Regions from separate parts of the Homo sapiens genome. Here region 1 is linked to region 2. The links are contacts of gene promoters, found by promoter capture Hi-C in human tissues and cell types (Jung and others, 2019). All regions are on one chromosome and are shown on one strand. The core of a region is centred on a gene start or on the middle of the fragment in contact, and the rest is flanking DNA. Distances in the headings are between cores, read along the strand shown. Region 1 has its middle 73 kb from the start of MIR5683. Region 2 holds the start of PPP1R3G (protein phosphatase 1 regulatory subunit 3G).

Region 1 (6,179 bases), core at 542-3,041, 1.0 Mb before region 2:
TAAAGTATAATAATAATAATAATAATAATAATAATAATAAACTTTGCTCAAATTAATCAGGGAAGACACAAATGGAAAAGCATTCCATGCTCGTGGATAGAAAGAATCAATATTGTTAAAATTGTTTAAATGGCCATACTTCCTAAAGCAATTTACAGATTAATTGCTATTCCTATCAAACTACTGATGACATAGTTTTTTTTTTTTGAGGAGGAGTCTCGTTCTGTCACCCACGCTGGAGTGCAGTGGCATGATCTCAGTTCACTGCTACCTCTGCCAGCCCGGTTCAAGCGATTCTCCTGCCTCAGCCTCCCAAGTAGCTGGGATTACAGGCACCTGCCATCATGCCTGGCTAATTTTTGTATTTTTAGTAGAGAAGGGGTTTCACCATGCTGGCCAGCTTGGTCCAAACTCCTGACCTTGGGTGATCTGCCCAGTTTGGCCTCCCAAAATGCTGTGATTACAAGCATGAGCCACTGTGCCCGGCCCCAGTGACGTTCTTCACAGATCTAGAAAAACTATTTTCAAATTCATGTGAAACAAAAAAAGGGCTCTAATAAATAAGGCAATCCTAAGCAAGAGGAATAAACCTGGCGGCATCACATTACCTGACTTCAAACTATATTACAGGGTACAGTAACCAAATCAGTGTGGTACTGGTACAAAAACAGACACATAGACCAATGGAACAGAATAGAGAGCCCAGAAATAAGGCTGCACTCCTACGACCATCTGGTCTTCCACAAAGATGACAAAAACAAGCAGCGAGTAAAGGACTTCCTATTTCATAAGTGGTGCTGGGAAAACTGGCTAGCTATACGCAGACAATGGAAACTAGAACCCTTCCTTATACCATATACAAACATCAACTAAAGACGGATTAAGGATAATATTAAAAATTATGAAATCCCTGGAAGACAACCTAGGCAATACTATTTTGGACATAGGAACTAGGAAAGATTTCAGGACAAAAACACCAAAAGCAATCGCAACAAAAGCAAAAATTGATAAATGGGATCTAATTCAAATTAGGAGCTTCTGCATAGCAAAAGAAACTATAAACAGAGTAAACAGAAAACCTACAGAATGGGAGAAAATATTTGCAGACTATGCATCTGACAAAAGTCTAATATCCAGCATCTATAAGGAACTTAAATGAATTTACAAGAAAAAAAGCAACCTCACTAAAAAGTGGACAAAGGACATGAACGGGCACTTTTCAAAAGTAAACATATACATGGCCAATAAGCATATGAAAAAAGGCTCAATATCACTGATAATTAGAGAAATGTACATCAAAACCACAATGAAATGTCATCTCACACCAGTCAGAATGACTATTATTAAAAAAAAACAAACAGGTGGTGGAAAGGCTATGGAAAAAAAAAGAATGCTTACCTACTGTTGACGGGAGTGTAAATTAGTTCAACCATTGTGGAAAGCAGTGTGGCAATTCCTCAAAGAGCTAAAAACAGAAATAGCATTCAACTCAGCAATCCTATAACTGGGTATGTACCCAAAGAAATATGAATCATTCTGCCACAAAGACACATGCATGCATGTATTCATTGCATCACTATTCACAATAGCAAAGATGTGGACTCAATCTAAATGCCAATCAATGGTAGACTAGATAAAGAAAATATGGTACATATAAACTGTGGAATACTACACAGCCATAAAAAAGAATAAATTTATGTCCTTTGCAGGAGTATGGATGAAGCTGGAGGCCATCATTCTTAGCAAACTAATGCATGAAAAAAAAACCCAAATACCACGTGTTCTCACTTATAAGTGGGAGCTAAATGATGAGAACACATGAACACAAAGACAGAAACAATAGTCATTGGGGCCTACTTGAGGGTGGAAGGTGAGAGGAGGGAGAAGAACAGAAAAAAACAACTATTGGGTACTAGATTTAGTACATGGGTGATGAAATAATCTGTACAACAAACGCCCATGACACGAGTTTACTTGTATAACAAACCTGCATGTCTAACCCTGAATCTAAAATAAAAGTTAAAGAAAAAAAAATTAAATAGCAAATAGACAATGTTTTAAAATCAAAATATCATATGATGATTCTCAGAGAATACTAATAAAATTGATAAATCCTTACTAGATTGGTCAAAGAAAAGGGAGAGAAGTCACAAATTATTAATAACAGAAAAGAAAATGGAGACATAACTATAGATCTTACAGATAAAGGAAAATAAAGAAGCGGGGAAAACAACTTCATGACAAAAAATTTAACAACTTATATGAAATGAACAAATACATTGAAAAACACAAATTACCAAACTGACTTGAGAAGAAACAAAATCTAAATAACCCTATATTTTCTCAAAAACTTTAATTTGTAAGTAAGCCTTTTCAAACACACACAAATAAATCCAGACCATTGACTTTACCAATAAATTTCATCAAACATTCACAAATTCTACACAAACTTTTTTAGAAAACATAGTAAAATAGAATACTTCTCAACATATTTTATGAGGCCAGCAATAGCCTGATATGAAAACCAGACAAAGAAATTTTTAAAAATAAAATTGTAGACCAATATCCCTCATAAATATAGACACAAAAATCCTTAACAAAATATTAGTAAATCAAATCCAGAAATATACAAAGAAGGTAATATATCACAACTAAGTAGAGTTTTTTTAAGGAATGCAAATTTGCTTTAACATTTGGGAATCAATCAATGTGCAAATCTACACATTAATATAATTAAGGAGAAACAACAAATGATGGCGGGTTGCAGTGGCTCACGCCTGTAATGCCAGCACGTTGGGAGGCCAAAGTGGGCAGATCACCTGAGGTCGGGAGTTCGAGACCAGCCCGACCAAAATGGAGAAACCCTGTCTCTACTAAAACTACAAAATTAGCCGGGCATGGTGGCAGGTGCCTGTAATCCCAGCTACTTGGGAGGCTGACACAGGAGAATCGCTTGAACCTGGGAGGCGGAGTTTGCAGTGAACTGTGATCGTGCCATTGCACTCCAGCCTGGGCAACAAGAGCAAAACTACGTCACAAAAAAAACAAACAAACCAGAAACATATGATCATCTCGCTAAAGACAGAAAAGGCACTTGGCCAAACTAAACCCCTGGTAATATGTATATATTTTTTTAATTTGCAAAGTAGGAATGGGACAAACTTCCTCAACCTTATAAAAACTCACATGGGGCCGGGCACGGTGGCTCACGCCTGTAATCCCAGCACTTTGGGAGGCCGAGGCAGGTGGATCACGAGGTCAGGAGATCAAGACCGTCCTGGCTAACACGGTGAAACCCGTCTCTGCTAAAAATACAAAAAATTAGCCCGGCGTAGTGGCGGACACCTGTAGTCCCAGCTACTCGGGATGCTGAGGCAGGAGAACGACGTGAACCCTGGAGGCAGAGCTTGCAGTGAGCCGACATCACGCCACTGCACTCCAGTCTGGTCAACAGAGCGAGACTCCGTCTCAAAAACAAAAGCGAAAACAAAAAACAAAACTCATATGGAACAGAATAACTTACAATGAAAGATTAAACTCTCCCCTATTATAATTGGAAACGAAGCAAGTATATCCTCTCTTGCTGCATCTATTTAACATTGTAAATGGGGGTCCTAACTTGGGCAATAAAAAATAATAAAAGGCATATAAATTAAAACAGAAAAAGTAAAAATGCCTTTATTCATAGATGACATGACTTCCGCTTACAAAATCCCAAAGAATTTGCAAATTAAAAACCTACTAAATCTGTTAAGTGAATTTAATAAAGTCATAAGATACAAGGTCTTTATACAAAAATGAAATGTGTTTCTATACACTAGCAAGAAAATTTCTAAAATAAAATGTTTCTAAAATCTATTTACAGTCACTTTTAAGGCATAAGATAATTAAAGATAAATTTCACAAAATATAGAAAGATCTCTACACTAAAAACTATAAGACAGTATTGAGGAAAAATTAAAGACCTAAATGATGGAAAGATATACAATGTTCATGGTTTGGAAGTCTTAATATTCTTAAATCAATTCTCCTCAAGTTGATCTATATATTGAATTCAATTTCAATAAAAATTCCTTATGGGATCACATAGAAATTCACAAGCTGATGCTAAAATTTATATGGCAATGTAAAGGACTTAAAATCCACAAAACCATCTTGAAAGAAAGAACAAAGTTAGAATATATATTTATATAATCTGATTTTAAGGCTGACTATATAGCTACAGTAATCAAGATGTTGGTGTAAAGATAGGCCTATAAATCAACAGAATAAAATAAGAGAGTCCAGAAAGAGACCCACATATATATGGTAAATTAAATTTTGACCAAAGCAATTCAATGGAGAAAGAAGTTCTTTTTAATAAATGATGCTGGAACCACTAGGTATCCTTGCACGGAACAAAATGAAACTTAACTCATAACTCATAACATTTACAAAAATTAATTTGGGATGAATCATAGACCTAAACGTAAAACTTAAAACTATAAAGCTTTTAGAAAAAAAATAGGAGAATATTTGGACATTTCTCTTAGCATTCAGTATATATATATATATATATATATATATATATATATATATATATATATACACACACACATATATATGTGTATGGATATATATATATGTACACACGTATATATATTGTGTGGATATATATATATGTGGATATATACAAGCAAGAGAGGATATACTTGCTTTGTTTCCAATTATAATAGGGGAGAGTTTAATCTTTCACTATAAGTTATTCTGTTCCATATGAGTTTTGTTTTTTGTTTTTGTTTTTGTTTTTGTTTTTGAGACGGAGTCTCGCTCTGTCGACCAGACTGGAGTGCAGTGGCGCGATGTCGGCTCACTGCAAGCTCTGCCTCCAGGGTTCACGCCGTTCTCCTGCCTCAGCCTCCCGAGTAGCTGGGACTACAGGCGTCCGTGTATCGTGTATATATATATATATCGTGTATATATATATCGTGTGTGTGTGTGTATATATATATATATATATATATATATATATACCTCCTATGAACCAGCAATTCTACTTCTAGGTATTTATCCAAGAGAAATGAAAAATAAATGTACATAAAAAGTATTGTACATGAATTTCAATAGCAGCTTTCTTCATAAGAGCAATAAAACTGGGTGGGTTGGGGAAAATATTCTCAAGATAAGAATAAATAAGCAAATTGTGGTTACATTCATACAAGGAATAACCCTCAGCAATAAAAAGGAGCAAACTATTAATACATGCATATGCGACAACATGAATGAATCACGAAATCATTTTGCTGAGCAAAAAAAAGTCAGACACAATACAATTCTATTTAAATGAAATTAAAGAATAGGCAAAACTAATCTATGTTGGTATAAATCAGAAAAATTGTTGCCTCCTTGTGAGTATGGGCAAAGGCAAGGATTGACTTTGAAGGGGAAAAAGGATTTTCTCGGATAAGGAAATACTCTATTTAAAAAGTTTATTTCAATAGTTCTTGGGGTAACATTCCATATCTTGATGGATGTGTGAGCTACACAGACAGAAGTTTCTCCAGTATGAGGTAGTTTACTCACAGGCAAGCAGGAGTCAATTCTTGGATGAATAATCAATAATAGGACAAGGTTGCATGGCTGGTTTGACCATTTTGTGAACTAACATGCCAAAAACAAACAAATAGGCCCCCTAATTTGTATTGCACATATTCTATACAAGGTAGAAGGTGAGAATGAAAATAACAAATGAACAAGATGTTCCATAAGGATAGACAAAGTCTGGTACTAATCCAGTATTTCCCCCTTATCCAAATGTGATGGACTGAAAGAATCCAGGATCAAAATCAAGCTTCATCTCCTAACAGACCCTGATCATGTACCAGATGGGAATATTTAAAATATACCCAGAAAAGCAACCTCTCAATGACAGCGAATTTTAGCACAGGAAGGCTGATGCTGACGTTCCTATACTTTCATTTTCTGTGATTCGATGAGCTACTTTGACATTACTCCTGGTTAATGACAGTTATCAAGATGCTTTGATTCTCTTTCTCACTCTGGATCATTTTACTTTCCATCAGTGACTTGCAATTCTATCAGTGACAAATCAATTTTCTTCACAAACTATCAAGGTCAACTTTCACAAACACTGTAGTCACAGCCACAAAACATCTGTTAAGACAGATCACAGTTGAGGG
Region 2 (6,633 bases), core at 1,809-4,308:
GTAAGGCCAGGTGAGGTGGCTCACGCCTATAATCCTAGCACTTTGGGAGGCCAAGGCGGGTGGATCACCTGAGGTCAGGAGTTCAAGACTAGCCTGGCCAACATGGTGAAACCCTGTCTCTACCAAAAATACAAAAATTAGCCAGGTGTGGTGGCAGATGCCTGTACTCCCAACTACTCTGGAGGCTGAGGCAGGAGAATCGCTTGAACCTGGGAGGCGGAGGTTGCAATGAGCCAAGATCGCACATTGCACTCCAGCCTGGGCGACAAGAGTGAAACTCCGTCTCGAAAAATAATAATAAGAAAATTAAATTAAAAATAAAAATGTAAAAACTATTCTTAGGTCACAGGCCCTACAAGAATAAGCTGTGTGCCAAATTTGGCCCATGGGCCAAATGTACGTATGCCCAGCCCTGTTCTATCAAGCAACAGTGAAACTGTCCCTCCTTAGAGACTACCATCCCTAAAACGACTGACTGTACTCGCCATGTGCTGGAAAATGGGAAGACTTAAAAAAAGGGAAATCACTGAGGCAGAGTCAAGGGGCGACAGACCTTACTCGGGATGCCCTCCTGCCCACCCATGCACAGAGGGCCACATCATCCTGGCATCCACAGCCAGCACAGCGACCAAGGCCGTCCATACCCCACCCAACGGGCCTGCAGAGGTGGCCATCTGCGTCTGCGCAGCACTGACTCGCTGGGCATGCCTCCTCTTCCATCAAGTCACCACTCCCCACTGTGGCTCTGAGAGGAACAGAAAGCCACTTTCCCATCCCCCATCCCCTGCGCTGGCAGTCCAGCGACTAAAAGGGCCCAGCTTCTCTGACTGCTAATGGCCCGGCAAGTCTCCTAACAGTGTGCTCTGCCTACACAAAGGGCGCCGGGGCGTGCGTGCCCGGCTCTCGCAGATCACAGCCAGGGCCTGCCCGAGGACTGGCATTTCAATTCACCAAACGTCTTAATTCGGAGGGGGACGGAACACTTTCTACAGAACATTTTAAAGCACATGGGAAGTTTGGGCCCTTTCGCAGTAGAGAGGAAGGAACGAAGGGGAGGAATTTGTAGGCTGTTGTTTAAGGATTGTTAAAGTGCGCACATCATCAGCTGACAAAGATCGGCCGACTGCCAATGCCTCCCCAAACTCACGAAAGCCAAAATTCAGAGTACAGCGTAAAAGGGGGTGCGAGTGGCCTTTACTTTTATAAAGGACATTTGTACACAATGTCGCACAATAAACAACGTCAAGTCTGGGCACACATTACCCACATCTCAGTCAAAAGAAAAGGGTGGCCTGGCCCAGCCCCGAAGGGTTTTCTCTGAGAAATAGGTTGGGGTGTAAAGGTCCCACGCGTGCACCCACAGTCCGTGGCACCTTCCTCTGGTGCACCGTGGCAGGACGCTTTGTTCTTTCCCTAGGGGTCTCCAGCAAACTGCAAGGGCTACAATATGATATTTAGAGTTAAAAACCAATCCCAAGGCCTTAGAACCATGCCCGGGAGTTGGGAGCCTTTTTCTTGGAGGCAGCTGCTCCGGGCCTTGGAAGTTTCTTCCTATTCTGACGCAGGCTGGGAATTCTAGAGGCCTTGTAGGAAGGTCAAACGGACGAGAAGACTGAGGTCAGAGGCTTTCGGAGCATTGCCCGGGCTCTCTAAGCTCGCTCACTTGTCTGCGGGGGTGCGAGTCGACGGTTCAAAGTCTCCCTCCTTTCCCTCCACGCGCCCCTCACGCCAGACTCGCCACGCTCAGCAAAGCGTCCCAGCAAGTTCCTTGAGGCGGCAGCCCGAGCTCCACGTGCTAATCAACCCCGCCCCACGGCTCTTCGAAACTCTCCAGGCTCAGAGCGCGTCCGCAGGGCGCGCGTAGCGCAGCGTGTAGTTGGCGCCCGCGTTGTTGTCCCAGTACTCGCCCTGCGCGCAGCGGTAGCAGACAGCGAAGTGGACCGCGACGCCGCGCTCGTCGGCGTCCTCTTCGTCCTCAGGCTGCAGGCCCGGGGGCAGGCACAGCGAGAAGTGGAAGCACTCGGCGCCTGGCTCTTTCTTGGCATCCCCGGACCCTGGCTCGGAGGCCCCAGACGGTGCCTCTGGCTGCTGTGGCTCCAGCGGCTCGGGCTGCAGCTCAGCCGGCACGTCCAGGAAGGAGCGCCACTCGGTAAAGGTGTAGCGCACGGTCACGGCCCTGGGCCCAGGGCAGCTGAGCACCCGGCCGGAGCCCTTCACCTCAGCGCCCGAGGCCGTCGAGCACTGCACGCGCTCCAGGCACACGCGCTGCCGCTGCAGACGCTCGGCCGCGGCGCTCGGCCCCGGGAGCTGGAAGAGCGGCCGGAGCCGGGAAGGCGGCGCTGAAAGGGGCGCGGCCACTGCCGCCGCGGCCAGCAGCCCCCCGAGCTGCTCCAGGTCCTCGGCACGCATAGGGAAGCTTCGGAGGCGCGAGAGCACGGCGGGCGGCACCTGCGGCTCCTCCGCCTCGCTGAAGTGCTTCACGCTGGCCAGGCTTAGCCCCAGCGTGTCCGCGAACTGCACCCGCTTCTTGCACTTGGCGCAGCAGCCGCCCGGGCCGAGCTGTGCGTCCTCCGCCCCCTCGCCGCCCAGTGCCACCGCCTGTTGCTGCTGCTGCTGCAGGAACTTGGCCGCCTGCAAGATGGGGTCGGCGGGCAAGGAAAAGGAGCGCGCGCGGCAGCGGCGGCGGCATTCCAGCAGCTCCTCCTGCTCCTGGGGGGCGGCCTCTTCCTTCGGGGACAGGGGCCTATCCCCTAGCTGAGCGTCAGGACTCGGGGTCTCCGAAGCGCCACCGCCGTCGCCGCCACCCTGCACACAGGGGACCACCGGGGCGGGCAGCTCCTCGGCCGGCGGGGCCTCTCGGAAGGGCGCTGGTCCCGGCGCCTCCAAACTTAGCCGCGCCCCTATGGGCTCCATGACGCCGTTCGCCCCTGGACTTGCTCGGGCCGAACCGGGCCCCTCTGGAGACTTAACTAACTCCTCGGGCCGTGGAAGGAGCGCAGGGCTGCAGTTCAGGCTCGCCCTCCCCGAGGCGAGTCGCCCCAGGCTCGACAAGACAACGTAGTTCCACTTTGGAGCCTCCGGCTTTTAGCTGCGGCTGCCCAGGGCGAAGTGGGAGGAGGATGCGGGCCTGGGGCCGGCTCCGGGGCCACGCCGCCTCCCGGTTGAACCTGCCCGCGACGGGGGAGGGCCGGGGGCGGGGAGGCGCGGCCGCTGGGACACCTGGAAGCCGTGTTCCCGAGTGCTCCGGTGGAATGCGGGGGGCGACTTTCTGTCGTTCGCGGGCTCCCTGCAGCCCTCACCCGCACCCCCGGCGGGGCTCGCGTCTGTTCCGCTTCTTGAGTGCCTCGAAGTGGGGGTGCAGAGCTCGCGCTCAACCTTCAGAGACCCCCACGTGCACAAAGTCTTCCTGCCCATGAACTTGGCCTGACGGCTCTGCCCCCAGAGGGTCACTGAGCGCTCTCCTCTTGGCTGCCTCACGGGCTGGGGAGTCCCCGGTGCAGCGCGCAACTGGGGAAATCTTGCCTACGCAGAGGCTGGAAGGAGGCCCATTCCGCGCCGCCGGAGAGCGGGGAGCGCATCCCTTCCCTTCTGCTCCTGCTTTCCCCAAACTTCAGGGCGCCCCGGGTTCCAATCCCACTCGGAAGCCTGACTCGGTCAGGCGCGCTCCGCTCTGCTCTTCCGAAAGCCGGGAGGCAGGAGCCGCCGCCCCCATCTGCCCAGTGGCGGCGCGGGGTGGGCTGCGGCCAGACTGGGGCGGGGACCGTGTGGGGACGCGCCGGGGAGCGGCCATGGCCCGCAGCCGAGAGCGGCCGGAGGCCATTCGCGCCAGGCCCGGGAGCACGTCCCGCCCCTCCCCCTGTCCCGCCCGACGCGCCCGCGAGTCCGCGCCCCGGGATCCCGCAGGGAGGGCGGAGAGGGGGCCCCGTGGGGCCGGCGCCCACGCGGCACGCACCACCTCCCACCGCAACCGGACGCCAGCGCCCCAAGCACCCTCCCCGCCCACCGGGAGTGGGGGCGTGGCCCGCGCCGGACTGCGCTGTCACCGCCCTGCTGCTCCGGCCTTGCCAGGGGCCAAGGCCCGAACCTGAGGCCGGGGAGGGGTGGGGAAGCGCGTCGTGGTACCTAGGGATTGGGGGAACGTCTAAAAGTGGTGTTTTTCTTGTTTTGGTTTTAAGGCCACCCTGAGGGCCATCTAAGTCAGTGATTCTACTTCAGCATGCACGGACATCACTCGGGGGCCCGTTGTCACATCACAGGGCCCCACTCCCAGAGTTTCCTTCTTTCTAACTTTTTCGAGATAGGGGTCTTGCTATGCTGCCCAGGTTGGTCTCAAATTCCCGGCCTCAAGCAGTCCTCCCGCCTCAGCCTCTAAGGTAGCTGGGATTACAGGCGCCCCCCACTGCTCCCAGCTCCCTAGCGTTTGTGACTCAGTGGGCTTGGGCTGGGGCCTGGAAGTATTTCTAACAAGGGGATGCTGATGCTGGGCTCTGGGGACCGTATTTAAACCTATGTGGATGTGTATTCAGTTACTTATATAGAAAGTTGGGGATTCTAGAAACAGAACCACTAATTAAGAAACGTAATTAATTGGGGCTTCATAACTAAAACATGTCATGGTTTGGCAGAACTGAAAGGGGCCAGGGTTTTAGCCATGTTGGCAGAGGGCAGGCAAAAGAGATGGTGGGTGAGGAGCGTGTTAAGAGCTTACATTGATTGACTGAGCACCTACAGGATGTCCTGTCCATGAAATAGGAATCACATCATTCCTGCCTACATATAGGACACAACACTGCAGAAAGATTTCTCATCGCCAAGGCCCCACAGGGTGGCTTTCATGGGATTTGAAGCCAGGCAGCTTAGAGGAAACATTTCCCCCATCACTACTAAGCCTGGGCTGGGAGTGATGTCCTGTAAAGGGGGCCCTGCCGGTCCCCTTGCTGGACTCTTGCTGGTCATTTTATGCCCAGTGTGGAATTCCATGACTGTGTCTTGACTTGGGCATGGCATCTCCAAGAGGCCCCAGGCGCACACGGCCTGTCTTCCTGCAGCAACTCTGATTTCGGGAAGGACATTGCTTTTACATTTAAATACACATTGCTACATTATGGAGTTAAATACAAAATTCACAAGCTATTTTAAAGATAAAATAAGACTTCAAAGAGATTTTGAGGTGGTGGCGACCCTTTGGGCTACAACCCTCACGGGGGCACATGCTCACTCCAGGACAGAGAAGGAGGTGAGGGAGGTGCTGGGGCATAGAATTTAAGGAGGCATCACTCTCAGGGTCATGCAGGTGCACTGGTCCCAGCCCCGGCCCACCCTCCTCTGTGCGGTGGAAATGCTAGAGGTCCCACCCCCGGGGAGCTCTCAGTGCGTGGGAGGGGCCAACACTATACAAACTCAGCCCCTGTGGCCAATGCTGAGAAGGTGGTATCTGACCTGGTCAGGAGGCCTGTGAGGAAGGTGAGGTGGAAGGAACAGCTCGGACTGCAAGGAAGAACGTGCTGGGCCACGCAGAGGCTCTGTTGGAGGGAGTGTCAGGGGGCTGGACTGGAAGAAGGCCAGGGTGGCCTGAGGGCAGAGAGCACAGAGGAACTGGCGGAGCTGAGGATGGGAGGGGACAGCCACTCAACCTTGAGCAATGAGAGGCCGTCAAAAGGTTTTGAGTCATGAATGTGACTAACCAGATTTAAATTTTGAAAAGATCATTCTGGATACAGGACAAAGAGCAAATTACTGGGGACAGAAACAATGTGAGTGAGCCCCATAGGAGGCTGTTGCCATTGTTGTGGTGAAGGGTGATCATACTTAAGAGATGATGGTTGTGGGGTGGACAAATCTGAGCGCTATTTAGGAGTGAAAATCAATGTAGCACACTTATGGCCCCAAGTGGGGGTAGGTGCAGGGAGGCAGGGGGAGGGAGGTGCCTTAGGATTTGGACTTGAGCTGTTGGGTAGACAGTAGCAGTCACTGGGGCAGGGACCCCCAGAAGAGGAATAGAGGGAGGGCAAGATCATGAATTCTGTTTTGACCAGGTTGAGCTTCTCTGGTTCTTACCAACACCAAGTGGTGTCTAACACCAGTTCTCCAACAGGGTGTCCAATAATTCAATTCTGACATTATCTACCTGGAGCTAGTGTCTGTCTCCACAGCTTAGAGGCTCAGTCCCACAAGACGGCCCCCACTTCAGAAGCCACTTGCAAACGGGGTGCCCAGGCTGCCTGCATTTCTGCCCCTCCAGCTACAAATTAGTGTTCCCACAACCCATCCCCAGCTTCCATATGACTCACGGAACTCAGGAAAACACTTTGCTTGAGTTCACCAGTTTATTATAAAGAAGAAAACTCAGGAACTGGCAAAGGGAAGAGATAGAAGACAGAGTGTGCGATGGGCATGGGACTTCCAGGGCCCCTCTGGGTGCACCAGCCTCCAGGGTCTCCACATGCTCCCCACCCAGAAGCCCCACCAGCCTTGCTCAGTCTGCAGCCCCTGCCCCTTTCTGGAGGTCAGTGGGTGGAGTTAAAAGTTCCAGTCCTCTAATCACTTGGTGTTTCTGGTACCCAGCCCATCTTGAGGCTGTCTAGAGAGCCCACTCTCAGTCATCTCATTAGCATAAATTCAGGTGTGATCAAA

The links. Contacts are between HindIII fragments. The study calls those that stand out against the background at their distance.
Region 1: a contact is called between a fragment that was not itself captured here and the fragment with the promoter of PPP1R3G in region 2, in 1 of the 25 tissues and cell types used here (aorta).

What each region holds. Positions count from the first base shown.
Region 1 is chr6:6,093,526-6,099,704 of GRCh38, reverse strand. No RefSeq gene overlaps it. Among named protein-coding and RNA genes, the nearest start is that of MIR5683, 73 kb to the left of the region's middle. The HindIII fragment of the contact is 6,738 bases long and covers 1-5,160 here.
Region 2 is chr6:5,081,766-5,088,398 of GRCh38, reverse strand. It overlaps PPP1R3G (protein phosphatase 1 regulatory subunit 3G), which reads right to left and starts at 3,058. Exons shown (of 1, transcript NM_001145115.3): 1 at 1-3,058. The coding sequence starts at 2,913. The coding sequence ends at 1,837. The region is part of intron 3 of LYRM4-AS1 (LYRM4 antisense RNA 1); the gene reads right to left. It also overlaps a transcript of LYRM4 not described here. RefSeq lists silencers at 2,307-2,536, 2,567-2,616, 2,757-2,856, 3,107-3,286, 3,697-3,976 and 1 more and an enhancer at 2,087-2,776. The HindIII fragment of the contact is 9,723 bases long and covers 1,027-6,633 here.